3 separate regions of the Homo sapiens genome follow, and regions 1 and 3 are each linked to region 2. The links are contacts of gene promoters, found by promoter capture Hi-C in human tissues and cell types (Jung and others, 2019). All regions are on one chromosome and are shown on one strand. Each heading gives the region's core, a stretch centred on a gene start or on the middle of the fragment in contact. The rest is flanking DNA. Distances are from core to core; before and after follow the strand shown. Region 1 holds the start of MLLT11 (MLLT11 transcription factor 7 cofactor). Region 2 holds the start of ADAMTSL4-AS1 (ADAMTSL4 antisense RNA 1). Region 3 holds the start of BNIPL (BCL2 interacting protein like).

Evidence for each region. The method cuts DNA at HindIII sites, captures the fragments that hold promoters and counts their contacts. A contact is called where the count stands out against the background at its distance.
Region 1: a contact is called between the fragment with the promoter of MLLT11 here and a fragment that was not itself captured in region 2, in 1 of the 25 tissues and cell types used here (dorsolateral prefrontal cortex).
Region 3: the fragment with the promoter of BNIPL here is called in contact with a fragment that was not itself captured in region 2 in 2 of the 25 tissues and cell types used here (dorsolateral prefrontal cortex and hippocampus).

What each region holds. Positions count from the first base shown.
Region 1 is chr1:151,058,309-151,062,068 of GRCh38, reverse strand. MLLT11 (MLLT11 transcription factor 7 cofactor) reads right to left here and starts at 1,672. Exons shown (of 2, transcript NM_006818.4): 1 at 1,516-1,672. It overlaps CDC42SE1 (CDC42 small effector 1), which reads left to right and starts at 2,447. Exons shown (of 5, transcript NM_020239.4): 1 at 2,447-2,590. RefSeq lists an enhancer at 1,535-2,126. The HindIII fragment of the contact is 8,370 bases long and covers 100-3,760 here.
Region 2 is chr1:150,573,092-150,576,900 of GRCh38, reverse strand. It overlaps MCL1 (MCL1 apoptosis regulator, BCL2 family member), which reads left to right. Exons shown (of 3, transcript NM_021960.5): 3 at 1-2,343. ADAMTSL4-AS1 (ADAMTSL4 antisense RNA 1) reads left to right here and starts at 2,349. Exons shown (of 4, transcript NR_104133.1): 1 at 2,349-2,777; 2 at 3,080-3,242. The HindIII fragment of the contact is 4,214 bases long and covers 357-3,809 here.
Region 3 is chr1:151,034,950-151,038,801 of GRCh38, reverse strand. It overlaps BNIPL (BCL2 interacting protein like), which reads right to left and starts at 2,216. Exons shown (of 10, transcript NM_138278.4): 1 at 2,036-2,216; 2 at 1,140-1,235; 3 at 234-298; 4 at 1-6. The coding sequence starts at 2,076. PRUNE1 (prune exopolyphosphatase 1) reads right to left here. Exons shown (of 8, transcript NM_021222.3): 8 at 3,089-3,852. The HindIII fragment of the contact is 8,096 bases long and covers 1,341-3,852 here.

The DNA of each region.
Region 1 (3,760 bases), core at 423-2,922, 490 kb before region 2:
GAATCTGAGAAAAAAAAAAAAGCTCTTCGACAAACTGACTCCTTTTCTTACAACCAGAGTATGTATAAAAAACTGCTCAAACAGTCCCTGAGTGTTTGGTAGAGCTATCTTGCAATTTAAAAAGCTAAAGCAAATTTTATGAAATATTAACTCAAAAGGCCTAAAATCTCTATGTCATTGACCCAGAGACATGTACACAGGGTACCAAATACATTCAAGAAAGACATGCATGCAAACATACGTGGCATTAAAATCAAGTCAAGAACATAAAGTAATACTACACAGAAAATTGAAGTTAAAATGCTATTCACTAATGTAAGTAGTAATGACATTTTTGATTTAATATAGTATGGATTTAATTATCAAATACTCCAAATTTCGCAAAAGATCCTTTTTTGGCTAGCTTCCCCTTCCCCTCCACAAATGCTCTCCAGCCCTACTTCATCTATCTTTACATCTTTCATTATCTTAAATGGTATCATTTACTTAAAGGGTTTTGACAGTGCCTTGTACCACAATATATGTTCAATAAATGCTTCCCACTATCCTTCACTTTAAATTATCCGGGTATTTTAGGCAAAGGCAATATCTAATTATCACTCTGTTCTTAGAGATACATGATTAGCAAATGTATAGATTAGAAAGATACACTCTCGGAGCCACACAGACACGCCCAAATATCCTTTGTCCAGACCCTTTGTGGGCATCCAAGGCCTACTCAACAGGGCCTTGCTGTGTCATGCTGCCACCATGGGGAAGGGGGAAGGACAAGGTGGTGGTGGTGGTAGAGGGGAGCAGAACCTCTCTGACATCTCATAATGTGTGCCTCAGTCAGAGCTTGGATTTTCCTACTAGCATTCCTCCACCAATTCCACTGAGCTGCAAATCATTCTTTTCCAGAATCTGTCCCCATACCTAGCTCCTGTGGGCTATACTGATTTCACTATGGAATCAGGCAGTTCTCCAACACAGAGGCCCCCACCTTTCCTACCCTAGGCTGCCTCTTTCTTTGGAGCAAAGATTCGAGGTGGAATGAAAGAGATTATCCAAAGAAAGGTCAGGATTACACCCAACATTATCCCATATAACCCCCTCCCAAACTCCCTCCTACAGAGAAACATAGAACACTACAGAAAAAAATTGCAAGTATAGGGAAGTAGAGGACAGAGAGATACAGTAGGACTAAAAATTAAACAGCTGGTAAAACAAATTATGGTTTGAAAAGGAAGATAAGTAGACTGAAGATATTAAATACACAGGACAATAAATTACAGAAAAGGATACTTGAAATGAGGTAGGTGCTGAGAAATAACTACAAGTAAATTGTTAGAGATTAATGGTCTGTATAAGGTAACAAGGCATGGATGCTGTGAAGAAATAACTACCCATTGTTCATAGCGCCCCCTTCTCTCCTCTTCAGCTGTCCCCCACCTCATGTGGGGTCTTTCAATCTAACCATAAGCAGCCGCTCTTCTATCTTTGCAGCCCCCTGCCCCCTCCCTCAGTTTGGTTTACCTGTTATCAATCAATTACTGGCGTGTTCCAAAGATGGAGGGAGTGCCTCGGGAGCTCCGGGGTCTGCGCCGGGCTGGAGAAATACAAAGCTGTTGGGGCTTTGACGGCTTTGTCTTCTCACTCCTTTTCCCTCTTCAGTGACTGAGTCTGTCAGTTCACTCTCCCCCTGCAATGCAGCCCCTCCTAAGAAGGGCGGAAGGATTCCCCGCCCCCTCCTGCCTGACTCGGCTAATTCAAATGATAGGTTCCAGAACACTTGAGGGAAGGAGAGACGATGAAAGCATCTCCCTAGGCTCATTGGTCTGCGCTATTATTCCCGATCTCTTCCAGCACCCCCGTGCTGACTGGGGGCCCAATGAATGAGCAGTTAATTGCCCTCTAATTTTAGGTCCTCTAATTTATGGATTTGAAATCTTAACTCTAGACTACAATGGAAAGGAGGAGTATTCCTTTCTTCCACAATTTAAGGACTTTAGGTTACAAAGTATTTTTAAGAATCAGAGTATTTTTCCACCCCTTCTCCCAATCCCTGCTCCTCCAGACTCGCCTCTCTACCCTCACAATGGGTAAATAAACCTAGTCCTATTCCATTTTGGGTAGAGCACAATAAATTTGGGGTGGGGGGCGTGCTTCTGCGAATCTCTGAACTTGGTTAGGTCTGGGGGTTTGGGGGGCTCCGCTTCGTTTTGCCCCGAAATGCCTGGCGAGTAAAGGGAACGTGAGATTCCGGGGGCCCCAGCTTGGGTGCCAGGGCCTCATCTAGGTGTCCGCATTCTCCAGTTCTCCCCGCAGGGGCGGCGGCCTTGAGGGGCTGCAGAGGCACCCTCCCACGTCCCGCGCAGTGCAGTGCCTCCGCAGTCCAGAGGGGAGCAGTGCGCCGGGCTCCGAGCCGGACGGGTTTCGTAATCGCGTCGCCGCCGCTTCCGCCCTCAGCCGGCCCCACCTCTGCCGGCTCGTACTCGGCTCCCCCACCTCGCCGCAGAGCTAGCCCGGGAAGCCCACACTGGCGGCCACGGAGCAGAGTCCCTCACCCCCACCAGCTGTAGCTGAACGTCTGGATGGTGGAGAAGAGCAGGTGAGGCCGTGCAGTTGGTCCCCTGGCCCGCCTGCCGCGCCGGCCGGGCCAGGCGGAGACACACCGGATGCGGGGTGTGGGGGAGGCGGGTGTCCTGGGCTGCAGAGATGCTGGGGTGGTGGGAAAGGGGTGCGCGCCCGGGGTGGCCGTAGTCATCCACGCTCCTGGGGTGCGCAGGCTGAGGCCGCTGAAGAGTAGAAGGAAAAGAAGGAACTGGAATGTTGGGGGAGGTGGGAGGGAGAGGGTCCGAAAGATTCCCAGAGAGGTCCCAGTCCGGTTAAGGGTTGAGAACAGCAGAGAACTTCTAGGTAGAGTTGTGTAGTGGGGGGAGACAGATACGGAATCTGTGTGATTGAATATATTTGGGGAGGGGAGGCTTAGGGCCTAGCCCTCTTTCCTCTTAAGCCCCCAGAAGACCTTTCCTGGGGAAGGGAAGGTTGGTGTTGGGCCTGTCACTTGGCTGAAATATGGAGTCCACACCGCTTCTCCAGAGTCCCTCAGCAGCCCTCCATGTCTCGGGGTCTCCACACAGGGACCAGCTGCTGCCCCGGGCTTCTAGCCAGAATTGCCCATGCCATTCTCTCGATTCTTTCTTTCTCTCCAGCTGCTTCATGTGAGGGCTTGTCAGGCCGCGGGTTGGAGGCCTTAGGGCCAGAGGCGGTGGGACCGGGAGAACCGGTTTGGGGCCCGAACAGGACCAGAGAACTAGCCTGTACATCCTTCCTCCCTGGCACCTCTTTCCCATCCCTTCTGCTCACCTCCCAACAGCTCTGAGACCCTCAAGTCCTAGTATGATCTTGGTGGGGGCGGGGGGTGGCTTTCCCGGTTCCATATTTCACTCTTGCCATTTGGAACTCAGAGAGGTCGAGTTCTGAGCACCACTTGGCTCTCAGGACGTGGCCTTATGAGGTCTAATCCTCATCCCTCCTGTTGTTTTCTCAGCCCCTTCCCTATTCACTGTGGGGTTGGATTCGGGTGGCTCTTCCGCCTGGGCTGACCAGCTCAGGACTTCATTTTTCCTCAACCCACTCTCTTCTGGCTGCTTTAAAGAAGAGTGGCCGCCAGTGGCTCTTACTTCCTTTTCTGGCTTTGTTCCCATCCCCCACTGCCCTGCGCTACCATCACATTCACCCTGACCTGTCTTCTTCACACTCTGACCCCACCCTCAAG
Region 2 (3,809 bases), core at 1,214-3,713:
GAAGCTTTTCCTCTCTCTAATTAGCTTTCCCAGTATACTTCTTAGAAAGTCCAAGTGTTCAGGACTTTTATACCTGTTATACTTTGGCTTGGTTTCCATGATTCTTACTTTATTAGCCTAGTTTATCACCAATAATACTTGACGGAAGGCTCAGTAATTAGTTATGAATATGGATATCCTCAATTCTTAAGACAGCTTGTAAATGTATTTGTAAAAATTGTATATATTTTTACAGAAAGTCTATTTCTTTGAAACGAAGGAAGTATCGAATTTACATTAGTTTTTTTCATACCCTTTTGAACTTTGCAACTTCCGTAATTAGGAACCTGTTTCTTACAGCTTTTCTATGCTAAACTTTGTTCTGTTCAGTTCTAGAGTGTATACAGAACGAATTGATGTGTAACTGTATGCAGACTGGTTGTAGTGGAACAAATCTGATAACTATGCAGGTTTAAATTTTCTTATCTGATTTTGGTAAGTATTCCTTAGGTTTTTCTTTGAAAACCTGGGATTGAGAGGTTGATGAATGGAAATTCTTTCACTTCATTATATGCAAGTTTTCAATAATTAGGTCTAAGTGGAGTTTTAAGGTTACTGATGACTTACAAATAATGGGCTCTGATTGGGCAATACTCATTTGAGTTCCTTCCATTTGACCTAATTTAACTGGTGAAATTTAAAGTGAATTCATGGGCTCATCTTTAAAGCTTTTACTAAAAGATTTTCAGCTGAATGGAACTCATTAGCTGTGTGCATATAAAAAGATCACATCAGGTGGATGGAGAGACATTTGATCCCTTGTTTGCTTAATAAATTATAAAATGATGGCTTGGAAAAGCAGGCTAGTCTAACCATGGTGCTATTATTAGGCTTGCTTGTTACACACACAGGTCTAAGCCTAGTATGTCAATAAAGCAAATACTTACTGTTTTGTTTCTATTAATGATTCCCAAACCTTGTTGCAAGTTTTTGCATTGGCATCTTTGGATTTCAGTCTTGATGTTTGTTCTATCAGACTTAACCTTTTATTTCCTGTCCTTCCTTGAAATTGCTGATTGTTCTGCTCCCTCTACAGATATTTATATCAATTCCTACAGCTTTCCCCTGCCATCCCTGAACTCTTTCTAGCCCTTTTAGATTTTGGCACTGTGAAACCCCTGCTGGAAACCTGAGTGACCCTCCCTCCCCACCAAGAGTCCACAGACCTTTCATCTTTCACGAACTTGATCCTGTTAGCAGGTGGTAATACCATGGGTGCTGTGACACTAACAGTCATTGAGAGGTGGGAGGAAGTCCCTTTTCCTTGGACTGGTATCTTTTCAACTATTGTTTTATCCTGTCTTTGGGGGCAATGTGTCAAAAGTCCCCTCAGGAATTTTCAGAGGAAAGAACATTTTATGAGGCTTTCTCTAAAGTTTCCTTTGTATAGGAGTATGCTCACTTAAATTTACAGAAAGAGGTGAGCTGTGTTAAACCTCAGAGTTTAAAAGCTACTGATAAACTGAAGAAAGTGTCTATATTGGAACTAGGGTCATTTGAAAGCTTCAGTCTCGGAACATGACCTTTAGTCTGTGGACTCCATTTAAAAATAGGTATGAATAAGATGACTAAGAATGTAATGGGGAAGAACTGCCCTGCCTGCCCATCTCAGAGCCATAAGGTCATCTTTGCTAGAGCTATTTTTACCTATGTATTTATCGTTCTTGATCATAAGCCGCTTATTTATATCATGTATCTCTAAGGACCTAAAAGCACTTTATGTAGTTTTTAATTAATCTTAAGATCTGGTTACGGTAACTAAAAAAGCCTGTCTGCCAAATCCAGTGGAAACAAGTGCATAGATGTGAATTGGTTTTTAGGGGCCCCACTTCCCAATTCATTAGGTATGACTGTGGAAATACAGACAAGGATCTTAGTTGATATTTTGGGCTTGGGGCAGTGAGGGCTTAGGACACCCCAAGTGGTTTGGGAAAGGAGGAGGGGAGTGGTGGGTTTATAGGGGGAGGAGGAGGCAGGTGGTCTAAGTGCTGACTGGCTACGTAGTTCGGGCAAATCCTCCAAAAGGGAAAGGGAGGATTTGCTTAGAAGGATGGCGCTCCCAGTGACTACTTTTTGACTTCTGTTTGTCTTACGCTTCTCTCAGGGAAAAACATGCAGTCCTCTAGTGTTTCATGTACATTCTGTGGGGGGTGAACACCTTGGTTCTGGTTAAACAGCTGTACTTTTGATAGCTGTGCCAGGAAGGGTTAGGACCAACTACAAATTAATGTTGGTTGTCAAATGTAGTGTGTTTCCCTAACTTTCTGTTTTTCCTGAGAAAAAAAAATAAATCTTTTATTCAAATACAGGGTGTGATATGGGTCTTTTCTCATCGACGCCTCTTTTTCCTTCCCTCTCTTAGGCAAACCTTTTAGAGAAGTCAGCTGAGCAAATATGTACAGGTGAATTCAAAGCAAAAGCCTCACAAAGTTGATTTGCCTTAGAGCAAAGGACAGTTCCTTTCTTCAATTCTAATTAGAGGTGTTGGGTTTTTAATTAAATATATTACTGCTGTACTTAGAGGAGTTCTTAAACCTCCAAGTAAAATCAAAAACCTCTTTAAAATCAAAATTTCTGTCTTGATTTATTTATTTATTATTTTTTTTTTGAGATGGAGTTTTGCTCTTGTTGTCCAGGCTGGAGTGCAATGGCACGATCTCCGCTCACCGCAACCTCCGCCTCCCAGGTTCAAATGATTCTCCTGCCTCAGCCTCCTGAGTAGCTGGGAATACAGGCATGCGCCACCACACCCAGATAATTTTGTATTTTTAGTAGAGATGGGGTTTCTCCGTGTTGGTCAGGCTGGTCTTGAACTCCCGACCTCAGGTGATCTGCCCACCTCTGCCTCCCAGAGTGCCAGGATTACAGGCGTGAGCCATCGCACCCAGCCTCTGTCTTGATTTTTTTGAATCACCAGGTGTTGGTATGTTTTGTTTTGTTTTGTTTTGAGGCACAGTCTCACTCTTTTGCCCAGGCTAGAGTGCAGTGGGGCAATCTCGGCTCACTGCAACCTCAGCCTCCCGAGTAGCTGGGATTACAGGTGCCCGCCACCATGCCCGGCTAATTTTTCTATTTTTGGTAGAGACGGGGTTTTGCCGTGTTGGTCAGGCTGGTCTTGAAGTCCTGACCTCAGTGATCCACTCGCCTCAGCCGAAGTGCTGCGATTACAGACCTGAGCCACTGCGCCCAGCCTTGATCTTGAGGTAAGAGGGTACTGTACAGCAGTTACTCTATCATAACACCTAAATAATACCTAAAGTTAAAGAGTTTTGATGAAGTTCTTGGCAGCAGTGCTTTTCCCCTTCTGCTTTCCAAAAGGAGGTAAAAAGAAGCCAGTCAATTTCAAAAACCCCTATCCTGCTTTTATTTTCAGCTACCTTGAAAGTGAGCTGAATCACCATGGAAATGTGCAAATGTGAGGTTTGCATACTTGGTTTTAAGCCCTGAGCACCATATGCTAATCAGGCAATCAGGATTCTGTGCCTCCCTGCAGTCAGTTGCATTTCTATTTAAAAGTGCATTTTGGTTTGGAAGCCCCTTTCTGGAGCCTAACTACCAAAAGGCAGCAACTTTTTGTATCATTACAAAGAAAGCTGTGTAAGTGCACTCCCAAGCAAAGGTGTGGTAGGAGAGTAGCAGCCACAGAGGACCCAAGCCCAAGTCTTGGCCTGAGTTAAGTTAGTGCTATTGCTCCCATTGACGTGCTATGATGTGAAGCCGTTTCTGGTACAGTGTTCCTTTGCTCAGCACCTTAAAAGCTTGGATTTAAT
Region 3 (3,852 bases), core at 967-3,466, 460 kb before region 2:
CTGCAGCTGGAGAAAGGGGGAAAAAGAGAACCAAGATGGGTGTGTGTGTTGGAGAGCCGAGAGGGCTAGAATTCCTGTATGTGAAAGTGATAATATGGGGTGAATGCTGAAGAAGGACTCACGCAGGGGAGATTTGGGAAAAGGGGGAAATGGAACTGTAAAAGGATAGAGGTGGCATAGCCCTTTACTGGACTAGAATCAAGAACTTGAGGCCTGGTTTCTACTTGACCTACCTGCCTGTGAATCTCCTTTAGGGTCTTCAGGATCTTCAGAAGTGCCAGCCTCCTCAGGAAGCAATCTAGAGGGGAAGAGATTAAAAGGCGGCAGACATATACACCAAAGGCATCAAGCCAGGACTCAATATATAGGTTCTCTCTCCCCACCATGATTTTATCACCTATGCTGCTTTTTTTTTTAATTGTTTTTTTGAGACAGGGTCTCACTCTGTTGCCCAGGCTGGAATGCAGTGGCACAATCACAGCTCACTGCAGCCTCTACCTCCAGGGTTCAAGCGGTCCTCCCACCTCAGCCTCCCGAGTAGCTGGGCCTACAGGTGTGCACCACCACACTTGGCTAAATTTTGTATTTTTGTAGAGATGGGGTTATGCCATGTTGCCCAGAGTAGTCTTGAACTTCTGAGCTCAAGTGATCCACCTGCCTCGGCCTCCCAAAGTGCTGGGATTACAGGCATCAGCCACCACGCCCGGCCTCTGTTTTCTTTTTCCCATTTTTTTCCTTCAAGTCCTAATTCACCATCCCTGTGTCCATTTGCTTTTTTTTTTTTTTTTTTTTTTTTTTTTTGAGACAGAGTTTCACTCTTGTTGCCCAAGCTCGGGTGTAATGGCACAATCTCAGCTCACTACAACCTCTGCCTCCCAGGTTCAAGTGATTCTCCTGCCTCAGCCTCCCGAGTAGCTGGGATTACAGGCATGTGCCACCACACCTGGCTAATTTTGTATTTTTAGTAGAGACGGGATTTCACCGTGTTGGTCAGGCTGGTCTCAAACTCCTGACCTCAGGTGATCCACCCGCCTCGGCCACCCAAAGTGCTGGGATTACAGCCATGAGCCGCCGCGCCATCCCCTCCGTCCATTCGTGACCACCCCTCCCTTCTCCCAGCCACCCTCACACGTCCTCACCTAGGGAATTCTTCATCCTGCCATTCCTCCTTCAGCTCCAACTCCCCATGTCTCAGGGCTGCTCCTAGTTCTGGTGCTTCTGCAATCTCCCTGACCCTAAGACAGCCCCCAAGAAGAAAAGATCAAGGGAACTGAATAGTAGGTAAGAATAATTGAAATGAAGAACAGTAATTGAGATACAGAGCAGAGGATAGGCCTTCAAAAGGACTCAGATCTCTTGCCTCCTATACAGATGCTTCTCTTACCTTCACCACTTGCTAGAAGCAGATTACCTGCTGTTAAGTTTGGGAGCAGACGAAAGATGGAATGTAAAGTTAATCATATTTACCTCTGTAGCAGTTGCTCCACCTACAAAGTTGGGGTGAGAGATGTCCCACATTACAAGTGGCTGGAACCCAGCTAGACCCACCCAGCTATCATTGAGCAAAGTCGGGAAGACGGTACCTAGTTAGGCCTGCCTTTCCTCCACCGAGCTGGGGAGTGGCTAAGGGAAAACATGGCATAAGTGGAGGGGTGGAGGAAGAAGGTAAGGAGAAAGATTTGCCAGAACGAGAACCTGGACCTAAACTCGGTTCTGGTTCAGCTTTCCTGATGGCCATTCTGGAGGGTGAGGGTTAGAAAATAAAAGAACACAGGCAGATTTATCAGGTACAACATATTACAGAAACTTCCTTTATTTTTAAACCAGGGAATTATCCTGGAATCCTGTTCCCCAGTTCCATACCATACTGACATTTCCTACCTAAAACCACCCTCATCTCTTCTCTGCAAACTCTCTTACAGTCTTGTCTCCTTGAGGAACCCGAGATTTGACCCAGTAAGAGCTGGGTGGTGGGGAAGTCTCTCCGGACTGTTTATTCACTGTTACCAATCAAGTGAGCCAAGATCTTACTTACCCAACATCTGTCTTTTTTCCTGCCTCTTGTATAGTTCCCATCTTCACAAGTCTTCCTGCCTCCTTCTTTAAACACCTAGGAGTTGTTGGGGAGCTGGTTGTCCCAGCCCCCAACACTTCCTTACCTCTTTTCTGTCTCAGCTGTTGTAGCTCTTGCCTCCAAGGAGGGAGGTGTGGAAGGGAGGTAACCTCATCTTCAAAACAGGTTTTGCCACTCCTCTCCCCAGGAGCAGGTTTGCCCAAAAGAAAAACCCTGCCTCCTGTGAGGGGGCGGGTTTTGGGGAGGAGAGTGCATTTTCTAGTGGGGGCCAGTCTCGGTTGAGTCTAGGAAGGCAATTTGTTCTCCTTTCCAGACTCCATATATCCCTCTCAAAGTTGCTCTTTACACAAATAAGCAAAAAAACCAGTAGAAACCGTTGTGTTTCTGGCCGGGCGTGGTGGCTCACACCTGTAATCCCAACACTTTGGGAGGCCAAGGCAGGCGGATCACCTGAGGTCGGGAGTTTGAGACCAGCCTGACCAATGTGGAGAAACCCCATCTCTACTAAAAATCCAAAAAAAAAAAAAAAAAAAAAAAAAAAAAAAAATTATCTGGGCGTGGTGACACATGCCTATAATCCCAGCTACTTGGGAGGCTGAGGCAGGAGAATCGCTTGAACCTGGGAGGCAGAGGTTGTAGTGGGCTGAGATTGTGCCATTGCACTCCAGCCAGGGCAAAAAGAGCAAAACTCCATCTCAAAAAAAAAAAAAAAAAGAAAAAGAAACCATTGTGTGTGTTTCTAGGACTGTTATCTTGGATCTACTTTTCAAGCATAAGGAAAACTGGGGAAACGGAAGTATGTTATAAGGAGGTTTCTGGGAGAATAAACAAGTTGAACGGGAGGCTGAGGATGAGGGGAGACAGAAGCCTGTTGCTCCTTATTCCCAAAAAGAGTCAACAGAAAGAAGACATTAAGTATAGTAGGAAGAAGGGGGATCAATTTTGAGGAGACTGAAACAACTATCACAGAGAAAGGCCTGAATACACTTGTAAAAAAAGACAGTAAGACCCCCAAACAGGAAAAAATTATTTAATAGTATAACAAAATGCAAAATAAAGTACCCAAGTTACAAAACATAAATTCCTTTGGTTCATGATCACACCACTATTTTTACCTTCCACATAGCTACAGACATCACACCCTCAAAGTGAAGTCAAACTGTCCCCCTCATACTGAAGATGTCATGCCAAAACCATCACATACCCCACTGTTCAGTGAAACTGTTGGCAACTTACATGGAACAGAGCTGTGGGGTAGGAAAAAGGGGAAAGGGTTGCGTTAAAAAAAATGGGGAGACTCTACACATGCAGAACAAGTTAGTGGGAGGGAGTGCTCTGCTGGGTCAACACGCCATGAACCACACCCCTATTCGTGCTACATGAGGCTGAGTCCTTGCTACAACCACACAGAAATACAGACAATCAAGTGAACCTGAGCACCCCCAGGGATAACAGAAGAAAAATACAGAGAAGCAGAGGAGAGAAAGAATGGCAGCAAGAGGCAGATCACAGAATACCAGGGAACACCTAGTCCAAACCCTGTTTTACAGATGGGGAAAGTGAGACCTGGAGTAGTGAAGTGTCTTGCCAAAATACATAGTTTATGGGAGCATTAGAACTCCATGCTTCCTTTTAATGTGAGCAAGGAAAAAAAGAGATTGACAAGAAATTGATAGGCCTGCTAAGGCAGGAGACAGACCCAGGCCTCTCATTCCAGTTCTGTTGTCTTTTTGGAAGAGTGCCTATGAGGTCATTAAGGCCTTTCTGGGTGTTTTCTT